Regions from separate parts of the Homo sapiens genome. Here all the other regions are linked to region 3. The links are contacts of gene promoters, found by promoter capture Hi-C in human tissues and cell types (Jung and others, 2019). All regions are on one chromosome and are shown on one strand. Each heading gives the region's core, a stretch centred on a gene start or on the middle of the fragment in contact. The rest is flanking DNA. Distances are from core to core; before and after follow the strand shown. Region 1 overlaps PPP2R3A (protein phosphatase 2 regulatory subunit B''alpha). Region 2 has its middle 61 kb from the start of PPP2R3A. Region 3 holds the start of STAG1 (STAG1 cohesin complex component).

Region 1 (3,540 bases), core at 69-2,568, 720 kb after region 3:
ACTGCACTCCGGCCTGGCAACAGAGAGAGATTCTGTCTCAAAAAAAAAAAAAAAGAAAAAGAAAAAGAAAAAAAGTCTGAAAGAGCACAAACAGACAATCTAAGGTCACACCTCAAGGAATTAGAGAAACAAGAATGGAACAAACCAAACCCAAACCCAGCAGGAGAAAGGAAATGACCAGGATCAGAGCAGAACTAAATGAAATTGAAAAAAATAATACAAAAGAAAAAAAATACAAAAAATAAATGAAACAAAAAGCTAGTTCTTTGAAAAGATAAATAAAATTGATAGACCATTAGCAAGACTAACTAAGAAAAGAAGAGAGAAAATCCAAATAAGCTCAATAAGAAACAAAACAGGAGATATTACAACTGACACCACAGAAATACAGAAGATCATTCAAGGTTACTATGAACACCTTTACACACATAAACTAGAAAACCTAGAAGAGATGAATAAATTCCTGGAAAGATACAACCCTTCTAGCTTAAATCAGGAAGAATTAGATACCCTGAACAGACCAGCAACAAGCAGTGATATTGAAATGGTAGTTTAAAAATTACCAACAAAAAAAGTCAAGGACAGACGGATTCACAGCCGAATTCTACCAGACATTCAAAGAAGAATTGGTACCAATCCTATTGACACTATTCCACAAGACAGAGAAACAGGGAACCCTCCCTAATTCATTCTATGAAGCCGGCATCACCCTAATACCAAAACCAGGAAAGGAGGACATAACCAACCAAACAAACAAAAACCTACAGACCAATATCCCTGATGAACACAGATGCTAAAATCCTTAACAAAATACTAGCTAACTGAATCTAACAACATATCAAACAGATAATCCACCATGATTAAGTGGGTTTCATATCAGGGATGCAGGGATGGTTTAACATATGCAAGTCAATAGATGTGATACACCACAAAAACAGAATTAAAAACCAAAATCACATGATCATCTCAATAAATGGAGAAAAAGCATTTGATAAAATCCAGCATCCCTTTATGATGAAAACTCTCAGCAAAATTGGCATACAAGGGACATACCTCAATGTAATAAAAGCCATCTATGACAAGCCCACAGCCAACATAATACTGAATTGGGAAAAGTGGAAAGCATTCCCTCTGAGAACTGGAACAAGACAAGGATGCCCACTCTTACTACTCTTCTTCAACATAGTACTGGAAGTCCTAGTCAGAGCAATCAAACAAGAGAAAGAAATAAAGGGCACCCAAATCAATAAAGAGGAAGTCGGCCGGGTGTGGTGGCTCACGCCTATAATCCCAGCACTTTGGAAGGCCGAGGCGGGCAGATCACGAGGTCAGGAGATCGAGACCATCCTGGCTAACATGGTGAAACCCCGTCTCTACTAAAAACACAAAAAATTAGCTGGGCATGGTGGTGGGTGCCTGTAGTCCCAGCTACTTGGGAGGCTGAGGCAGGAGAATGGTGTCAACCCGGGAGGCAGAGCTTGCAGTCTGCAGTGAGCTGAGATTGAGCCACTGCACTCCAGCCTGGGCGACAGAGCGAGACTCCGTCTCAGGAAAAAAAAAAAATAAATAAATAAATTAATTAATTAAAAAAAAAAAGAGAAAGTCAAATTCTCGCTGTTTGCTGATGATATGATCGTTTACCCAGAAGATCCTAAAAACTCCTCCAGAAAACTCCTGGAACTGATAAAATAATTCAGCAAAGTTTTCGAAGACAAAATTAATGTACACGAATCAGTAGCTCTTCTATACACCAACAACGAGCAAGCTGAGTATCAAATCAAGAACTCGACCCCTTTTACAACAGCTGCAAAAAACAAACAAACAAACAAAAAACATACTTAGCAATATACCTAACCAAGGAGGTGAAAGACCTCTACAAGTAAAACCACAAACCACTGCTGAAAGAAATCACAGATGACACAAACAAATGGAAACACATCCCATGCTCATGGATGGGTAGAATCAATATTGTGAAAATGACCATTCTGCCAAAAGCAATCTACAGACTCAATGCAATTCCCACCACAATTCCTATAAAAATACCATCAACATTTTTCACAGAATTAGAAAAAACAATTCTAAAATTCATATAGAACCAAAAAAGAGCCCGCATGGCCAACGCAAGACTAAGCAAAAAGAATAAATCTAGAGGTGTCACATTACCTGATTTCAAACTATACTATAAGGCCATAGTCACCAAAACAGCATGGTACTGTTATAAAAATAGGCACATAGACCAGTGGAACAGAATAGAGAACACAGAGATAAAGCCCAATACTTACAGCCAACTGATCTTTGACAAGGTAAACAAAAACATAAAGCAGGGAAAGCATACTCTTTTCAAACAAATGGTGCTGGGATAATTGGCTAGTCACATGTAGGAGAATGAAACTGATCCTCGTCTGTCACCTTTTACAAAAATCAACTCAAGATGGACTAAGGACTTAAATCTAAGACCTGAAACTATAAAAATTCTAGAAGATAACAATGGGAAAACCCTTCTAGACATTGGCTTAGGCAAAGATTTCATGACCAAGAACCCAAAAGCAAATGTAACAAAAACAAAGATAAATTGCTAGGACTTAATTAAAATAAAGAGGTTTTGCATGGTGAAAGGAACAGTCAGCAAGTAAACAGACAACCCACAGAGTGGGAAAAAGTCTTCAAGATCTATACATCTGACAAAGGACTAATATCCAGAATCTACAATGAACTCATATCAACAAGAAAAAAATAATCCCATCAAAAAGTGGGCTAATGACATGAATAGGCAATTCTCAAAAGAAGATATACAAATGGCCAATAAACATATAAAAAATGTTCAATGTCACTAATGATCAGGGAAATGCAAATCAAAACCACAATGCGATACCACCTTACCCCTCCAAGAAGAACCTTAACCCCTGCAAAACCACAATGTGATACCACCTTACCCCTGAAAAAACAAAACAAAATAAAACAGTAGATGTTGGCATGGCTGCAGTGAACAGGGAACATTTCTACACTGCTGGTGGGAATGTAAACTAGTATAACCACTATGGAAAACAGTGTGGAGATTCTTTAAAGAACTAAAAGTAGAACTACCATTTTATCCAGCAATCCCACTACTGGGTATCTACTCAGAGGAAAAGAAGTCACTGTAAAAAAAGATACTTGTACATGCATGTTTATAGCAGCACAATTCGCAATTGCAAAAATGTGAAACCAACCCAATGCCCATCAATCAACAAATGGATAAACTGGGGCATGTGTGTGTGTGTGTGTGTGTATACATACATACATACATACATACATACATACATACATACATACATATATATATATATATATATGTGATGGAATACTACTCAGCCATAAAAAGGAATGAATTAATGGCATTCGCAGTGACCAGGATGAGATTGGAGACTATTCCATGTGAAGTAACTCAGGAATGGAAAACCAAACATCATATGTTCTCACTCATAAGTGGGAGCTAAGCTATGAGGATGCAAAGGCATAAGAATGACACAATGGACTTTGGGGACTAAGGGGTAAAGGGTG
Region 2 (3,769 bases), core at 79-2,578, 850 kb after region 3:
GCTAGTTCTCATTCTCAAATGTATATGCATGGAGCAGAAAAGGTAGAAAGGCAATAGGAGGTTCTCTTGTTCTGGGGACATGGAGGGAGCCCCCATATCATTCTCTGCTAAGCTGACATCTGTCCCCAGCAGGTGTCTTAATCACTAATCCCTAAAATAGCAGCTTGTTCTCTAAGCATTCTGGGTTCCTAGTAAAAAAGTTTCTTCATTGGTTTCTTTTAAAAAGCAATAGCCAGCCTGGGTAACACAGTGAAACCCTACTCTAACAAAAATACAAAAAATTAGCCAGGCGTGGTGGTACTTGCCTGTGGTCCCAGCTACTCCAGAGGCTGAGGTGGGAGGGTTGCTTGAGCCCAGGAGGTGGAGGCTGCAGTGAGCTGAGATCGCCCCACTGTACTCCAGCCTGGGCAATAGAGTGAGACCCTGTCTCTAAAAAAAAAAAAAAAGAAAAAAAGAAGAAAGAGCAATAGCATGAAATTTGGGAAAATATTTTGGAAAGCATAAAGAATTTAACAAATCAACTTTCATCTAATTTCTTAGAGACAGACTGTTAATATTTTCTTCTATAATGTTTATTATAAATTCAGGCTAGAATATTATAAATTTGGAAATTAGAAAAAGCTTAAAGAATAACATAAAAACTGCATGTAATTCCACCACTGCCAACATTTTATTTTTCCTTCCAGTCTTTTTTCTTTACATACACATACACATGTACATACATCTATAGATAAGTTTTAAATAAAATATGAACTATACTGTCTATGTAGTTTCAGATCCTATTTTTTGTACTTAATATTACAAGTATTTTCTTCATCATTAAATGCTATTCAAGAGCATGATTGCAATTGGCCATCTGCTATTTTACTGTACCATAGTTCATTTAGCTATGACTTCAGTGTTAGACTTTGACTTGTTTCCAGCCCCTTACCATTGGAAAATAATGCCATTTTAGACATCCTTGTATGAAAATCTTTACCTAGGCTACATTTCTAGAGACTGAATTACTAGGCCAAGGACCAGGAACATTTTTTAGGCTTTTGATACATATTGCTGCTTTGTCCTCTATTTCACAAGCCCCCCGTGGACAAGGGAGTACCCATTTCTTGCAAACTTCTATTGTGAGTTGTAGTTTTTGTCTGATGCATCAAGGCCTCCCTGCTTCATGCAATCCCATAACACCACTGCCATCTTGTGTTCTTCCTCTGTGGCTTTTCTAGGAGAGAGAGGAAGCTCTCGTCCTTAGACTATTTGAAATGCTCTCCTTGTATTCCTCTAAAGTCCTTACTGCTCCATGGCTATTTTTATGTTGCTGCTTTGAGGTGATATGGATTTCCCTCAGTTTGACCAACTGGGTAACTCCTACCTACTTATTCTCTGGAGTCAGCTTGGACCTTGTGCCCTCTGTAAAGCTGCTTCTGACACTGCAGGCTGGTTTTGAAGCCTCCTCTGTGCTCTGCACGCCCTCTTCCTTCTCCGCCAGTCAAAGCACTTACACACTGTACCGTGTGCTCAGCTGTTTCCAGATGCAAGCTTCATTGTACCTTCAGTGCCTAACACTGCATTTGGCAGACATGGATACTCAATAGATGCTAACTTTATTTAAAGAATAAAGGTTAACTTTATTTAAAGAATCCTTGAAGGTTCATCTCTATTTCCATACCCTACATTCCATCCCATTCCCCCTGAATATTTACTGGGAGTTTTTCTGATTATATAATTATCTTGTAATTATGAATCCTTGTTTGAGAATCTAGAGTTGACCCTGGGGTTCCAAAAAATGAAAGAAGGAAAGGTAAAGAAATGAGGAAAAGAGAGAGAGGAGAAATAGATCAGAATATAAATTACGATACTTTACATTTCTATATTATATTACAGTTTACAAAGTTCTGTCATACACTTCAGTTTATTTTACTGTGGTAGTTCTAAGCCCTCTCTTGGAAGGACAGACCCTCGTGCTATATGCTGTTATCGCACTGTGTATGATCTTCCTTAGCACCTCTCACAGTTGTTGGCATATAATTACAGACGCTCCTCTACTTATGATGGGACTATCCTAATAAACCATTCTAAAGTCAAAAAATCTTAAATGGAACCATCATAAGTTTGGGACCATCTGTATTACCGGTCGCTGATGTATCCCCGATGCCTAGTGCAGTGCTCAATGCACTGTAGCTATTAAGTAAGTATTTATGAATTCTGAGAAAAAACATTCTTATAGTCATCTTATAAACAAAGAAATGAAGCCTAGAGAGTTGACATTTCAATCTAAGGAGTTCTACTCCAAGTTTGATTCTCTTTTCACTACATGTCAGCTAATGTTGCGGGCTTTCTCCCCCATGGGAAAAATATGAAAGTGGGTGCTATGGTTTGGATATTTGATTCCTCCAAACCTCATGCTGACATTTGATCCCCAATGTGGGAGGTGCGGCTAATGTTTGGGTCATGGTGGGGAGCCCTCATGAGTAGATTAATGCCCTCCCTGGTGGAAAGTGAATGAGTTCTTGTTGTATATTTTCCCTAAGATAGCTGGTTGTTAAAAAGAAACTGGCACCTTCCCTCTCTCTCTCTTGCTTCCTCTCTTGCCATGTGATCTGCACAGGCCAGTTCCCCTTCACCTTCTGCCATGAGTGGAAGCAGCCTGAGGCCCTCACCAGATGCAAGAGCTGGTACCATGCTTCTTGTACAACCTGCAGAACTGTGAGCCAGATGAAACTCTTTTCTTTATAAATTATCCAGCTCAGGTATTCCTTTATAGCAATACGATTGACTAAGACAAGGGGGGAAAAATGGAAGAGGAGAATAATGGAAGGAAAAGAGGGAGGCTGGGAAAAAGGAGGAAGTCATAGAAATGAAGAGAGTGGAGAGAAGTGATTTGAAGTGGACACCTTGATGATGAAGGGAGGACAAATAGAAAGCTCTAATTTCATATACGATATGGTGTTTTGTCACTCCATCAAGCTTAGTAAACCAAGATTTCAATCAGAAGTGCTGTAGTTTTAAAATCAGTCAAACATAAGAATTCAACAGTACTTTGCCCATCATAGCTCTCCATATTCACAGGCCAATCAATGATGACATTGCCATAGCTTTGAGAACATACTTAGTGGCAGCGGGAGAAAAGGTGATCCTGGCCATAGATTCTCTGGAGAACCTCCCCAGGATGTTCAGCCCCACTGATGAACTGATGAGGGAAAGGTGAGGGAAGAGAATGCCATGTGACCTCAGAAACCCAGCTGAAGTTGGGGTATAGGGTGAAGAACCCTGCAGGGTTGGCTGTCAATGGTTCCTGAAGAGTCCACCCACTCTCCCAAAAGCTTTGGCCAAGAACAGGACACCCTAAGGTATGGCTTTGTGAGTGCCCTTCGGGGGTCTAGGAATTCTTGGAAGATCTTAGGCACTGGAAATGGCACCATGTCCATTGCTTACTAGACAAAACTGCAGACACAGTCTCCCATGTCTGGAGACATCCCCACTGATGAACATCCCTGGGGGTGTTCTCCAGAGAATCCATGGCCAGGATAAGCCTGGCTTCTCTTGGTTTCATACAACAGAATATAGAGGGTTTAGGTGTAACTTTTCTGTAGACAGGGAGATGTACCTTCTGGTATGGTACAGATGAAGACCAATGAATACTGTGACAGATGTTACCACTTTTCCTTTGTAGCAGTGTCCATGGTAACAATTTTAAACTCTCGGGAGTCAGTATAGCATAGAGGTTACAAGCACAGGCTGTGGAGCCAGACTGCTTAGGCTAGAATCTTGGTTC
Region 3 (3,889 bases), core at 855-3,354:
AAAAAGGGTTTCAAGTAGGGGATGGGGATTGGTGAAAACCGTAACTGTTTCTTTTGAGAATGTGTCAATGAAAGGAACGTTGATAGCATAGCAACTGGAGGGAGTAACATCACTGAATTAAAAAAAAAAAAAAGACAAAAGAAACTTTTTTTTTTTGAGACAGAGTCTCACTCTTATCGCCCAAGCTGGAGTGCAGTGGCGTGATCTCGGCTCACTGCAACCTTCACCTCCCGGGTTCGAGAGATTCTCCTGCCTCAGCCTCCCGAGTAGCTGGCATTACAGGCGCACACCAGCACGCCTGGCTGTTTGTATTTTTAGTAGAGACAGGGTTTCACCATGTTGGCCAGGGTAGTCTCGAACTCCTGACCTCATGTTATCTGCCCGCCTCTGCCTCACAACGTGCTGGTATTACAGGTGTGAGCCACCGCACCCAGCCAAGACAACAGAAACTTCTGAGAAACAGAAAGGAAGAAGACAGTGGATAAGAACATATTTACATTATAAGGCGCTAGGAAAGTAGTGGTGGAAGGAGAAGGTGGGAAGGGATGGCATAGTTTCAGGCAGAGGGAGTGGCTTTGGAGAGAAGGGTTCTGGGTTAATTTGGTTAGAAGTTTTGGGATCACGAACAGGAGGTGGTCACAGATATTTTATAATGGAGGCAAGGTCAAACCGGAATTGGAGTCCCATAGCTCTGAGCCCAGGAAACTGGATGAATTTATCTATTAGTATGGACTGGGACTGGCATCTTTAACAACATGGAAAGCTTGAAACAGTCTTTGTGGAAAATAGGAGATCAGCCAGAGATTAGAAGAAAACGCAAGAAAATTATAAGTAGGAGTCCAGTCACGAATTCATATCCAATCTGGTCAGTTATGACTTCCTCCAGCGAAAAGCCACACATCTTGCAAACCCTTGAGAGAGAAAACACAAATAGGGGTAACCTACTGGAGACAGGCCCTTAAGACTATAAAGTAGTTGAGCGATTCCATACTGAAATAGAGTTGGCTATAGCGATAGAGAAGTTAGTCATATATGGGGCTAATGATCCAGGAGAGTAAGGATTCACTTTTGTGGTGAAAAGTTGTAAGCAGGTGAAAGGTAGGGATCCATGGCCACGGACGGGCAGGTGGAGATCAGGGAAGAGGCGACGTTAAACATAAATAGTTTGTTAATGATTTCACCTTACTGATTATTTCTCTTTTGGCATCTAGAAGGCTAAGATTCTCATGTGTATTTCAGAGCTACTGAAAGTAGTCCTAGGTTGTGGAGGGAGAAATCCACTTTCACAGCTGAGTCTATCTTCTCAGTCTAGTTATATTCTCCTCTCACAAACTAGCCAATGCTGCCGCCTTATGCAAAGCCGACACCACGGAAAGATGTGCTTTACAGAGGCAGGATGACGCCAATCGGCCTAGGGCCGGCGGTGTTTCGTCTAGATTAATGGCGAGGGAAGTCCCCAATAGTCCTTTTGAAACCTTTTCACTCTTGCCTGGTGAAAGCGCTTGTCAGCCGTAAATCGCGAATACAATGCTAAGCTCTGAGGCCCTTGCTAAATCCAAGTAGGAGCAGGGATCTGCGCGGCCTCACCCTCGGGTTTCCGCAGGGCGTCTCGAGAGCTGCGGATGGGGGCAGCAGGAGCCGGGCGGGAACAGAGGAAAGCGCCGGCCCTGAGACCTAGGGAGGAGCCTCGGTGAAGGAACCCGGGGCGGGTTCCTGCCTAGATCTCCAAGAAGCTCCAAAAATGGCGGGCGGCAACTCGGCGAGCCGGACGCGCAGGCGCCACCGTGGCCGTCCTTCCGCCAGCCGCGGGCGGCCCAAGAACCGTCCACAGCGCCCTTATCCAGAAGCCTACGCCTCTCGCGATTGGCTGAACTGCGCGAGCGCTCCGTGTGGGGGCGGGGCCGCCACGCAGCGGCCACGTTTCCCGCCCCGCTGGTGCGCGTGCGCGCAATCCCCACTGGAAAGCGTTTGCGCGCGCCCCTGCCGCGGCCCCTAGCTCGCGCCTCAGCTCCCTCCCCTTTCCGGGCAGGCCCGTCCCGTCAGCAAGGCAGTGAGCACCGCGGCCAGCAGAGGGCGGTCCGGACCCAAGTCTGCAGCGGCGCCATTGGCGTGTGGAAAATGCCACCAGATGGCGGGTTAGGATTGCAGCTCCGTTGAAGGCGCGGCCCCCGCTCCCGAACCCCCGGCGACCACCCCGTAACAACCCCCCCACATCGGGAATAACACACCGGAGACTTTTGGGGGGAAACTAGGTCGATGGTCGGCGGCGCCCGGATGGGCAGCTGAGGTGAGTGCGGGCGGCGGCGACGGCGGCGGGGGGCGGGAAAGAGGGGGAATGCGGCGGCAGCGGCGCGGGGGCTGGAAGCGCCGATCCAAGATGGAGGCCGGGCGAGAGCGAGAGAGCGCGAGCGGCGAGCGGGCGGGCCGGGCGCGGGCCCCGTGCGGGGGAGGGAGGCCGCGCGGGCCTGTGCGGGGTGCGGCGGTCGTGGGCCGTCCGAGTGCCCGGAGAGACGTCTGTGGGCGCGGTGGGCACCCCGGCGTCTTCGTCGCTTGCCACCCCTCCCGCGGGCACCAAAAATTTTGCCCCCGCCCGCCCGGGCACTACGGCGACAGGCGCGGAAGCCTTTGTGGCGCGCTCGGGCCCGCCGCCAAGCCCGCCCTCCGCCCCCCCCCGCCCGGGCTCTCGGGAGTCGCCCGCGCCCAGCGGGGCCGGGCCGACGCGGGCTGGCGCGAATGCCTTCCGCCGCCTGCCGACCTGCGTTTCTGCGGTGTTTTAGCGGCGGCGGCGTCACATGACAACGAGTTCATTTCAGCGGAGGGGCCTGGGGGGTCGCTCGGCGGGGCGGCTGGCCCAGGCTTCTTGTTGGCGGGGTGGGGCAGCGGGGTGGCGGCTGGGGGAGATGCATCAATGCTGGGCTTTCCAGCTATCTGCCCTCTCAGCCCCCGACGGGGGCCTCCTTGTGAAACGTGTCCAGGCCTAAGCACTGCCCCGCTAGTTTGCCAGTCCCCTGAGAGACGAGGCCAATAAAAGTTGTTTTCCCTCCTTTCTCGAGGTGGGGGCGGGGTGGGAAACTAGAGTGCTTGGAGTTGGACCTGAGCCCCGTTTGCAGGGTCCGAACTGGGTTCTTCTTGTATGGTATGGGTACTAAGAAATTTTCAGGTTTTAGGATTGTCACGTCACCCCCATCTACCCACATTTGAAATGTTATCTGTCGATTCTCTTCACATTGCAGGGAATCGTGCTCCGGGAGTATAAGTCATAGGATAGTTTTGGACACTTACAGACAAAAAAAAAACAAAAAAAAAAAACGCAATTTGTCATAAAAAAAAATTATTTGCTGTTAAAGTTGGTGTTAAGATGGATAGAGTTTATTCTCGTGATTCTGACTAGAAAGACTTGCATCTTCGCAAAAATAGTGTTTACTTGAGAAAGTATCTGAATTGGCACAAAGTTGTGTGATTTGTAACTTATCTGGAATTTGAATGACTCTACATTTTAGTTTTCCTCGTGTTTTAAGAAAATTGCACATTCCGATGGTGAAGCACTTAGGGAAATATACAGAAGAGTGAAAATAAAAATAACTTGTTTATTGTATGGTAATGTAACGTACCTTGTTCTAATATTCATAATGTATGAGGAATTCAGACTGAAAAATTTTAACCAAGTAGGGAAATATGGAATGGAAAGAAGCAGAAATGTTATTTCCTTGCTTTTGATGATTAAGAATACTTATAAGACAAATTGTTACCCAAATAAAGTTGTAGAAGATCTACAGGTGTTTTGCCACGCATTTTCCTTTACATATTTAAAACGTACTTCGAGTAAACTAAATTAATTCAAGTGATCTACCAGTGGTCATTTTCACAAACGAACTGCTTTTGAGTGGAA

Evidence for each region. Contacts are between HindIII fragments. The study calls those that stand out against the background at their distance.
Region 1: a contact is called between a fragment that was not itself captured here and the fragment with the promoter of STAG1 in region 3, in 1 of the 25 tissues and cell types used here (thymus).
Region 2: a fragment that was not itself captured here is called in contact with the fragment with the promoter of STAG1 in region 3 in 1 of the 25 tissues and cell types used here (H1 embryonic stem cells).

Annotation. Positions count from the first base shown.
Region 1 is chr3:136,030,554-136,034,093 of GRCh38, reverse strand. The region is part of intron 3 of PPP2R3A (protein phosphatase 2 regulatory subunit B''alpha); the gene reads right to left. Among named protein-coding and RNA genes, the nearest start is that of PPP2R3A, 67 kb to the right of the region's middle. The HindIII fragment of the contact is 7,936 bases long and covers 1-3,540 here.
Region 2 is chr3:135,902,948-135,906,716 of GRCh38, reverse strand. No RefSeq gene overlaps it. Among named protein-coding and RNA genes, the nearest start is that of PPP2R3A, 61 kb to the left of the region's middle. The HindIII fragment of the contact is 3,623 bases long and covers 1-3,139 here.
Region 3 is chr3:136,750,593-136,754,481 of GRCh38, reverse strand. It overlaps STAG1 (STAG1 cohesin complex component), which reads left to right and starts at 2,104. Exons shown (of 34, transcript NM_005862.3): 1 at 2,104-2,287. STAG1-DT (STAG1 divergent transcript) reads right to left here and starts at 1,811. Exons shown (of 1, transcript NR_185911.1): 1 at 1-1,811. RefSeq lists enhancers at 796-1,727, 1,521-1,840, 1,728-2,659 and silencers at 1,851-2,080, 2,401-2,780. The HindIII fragment of the contact is 8,035 bases long and covers 225-3,889 here.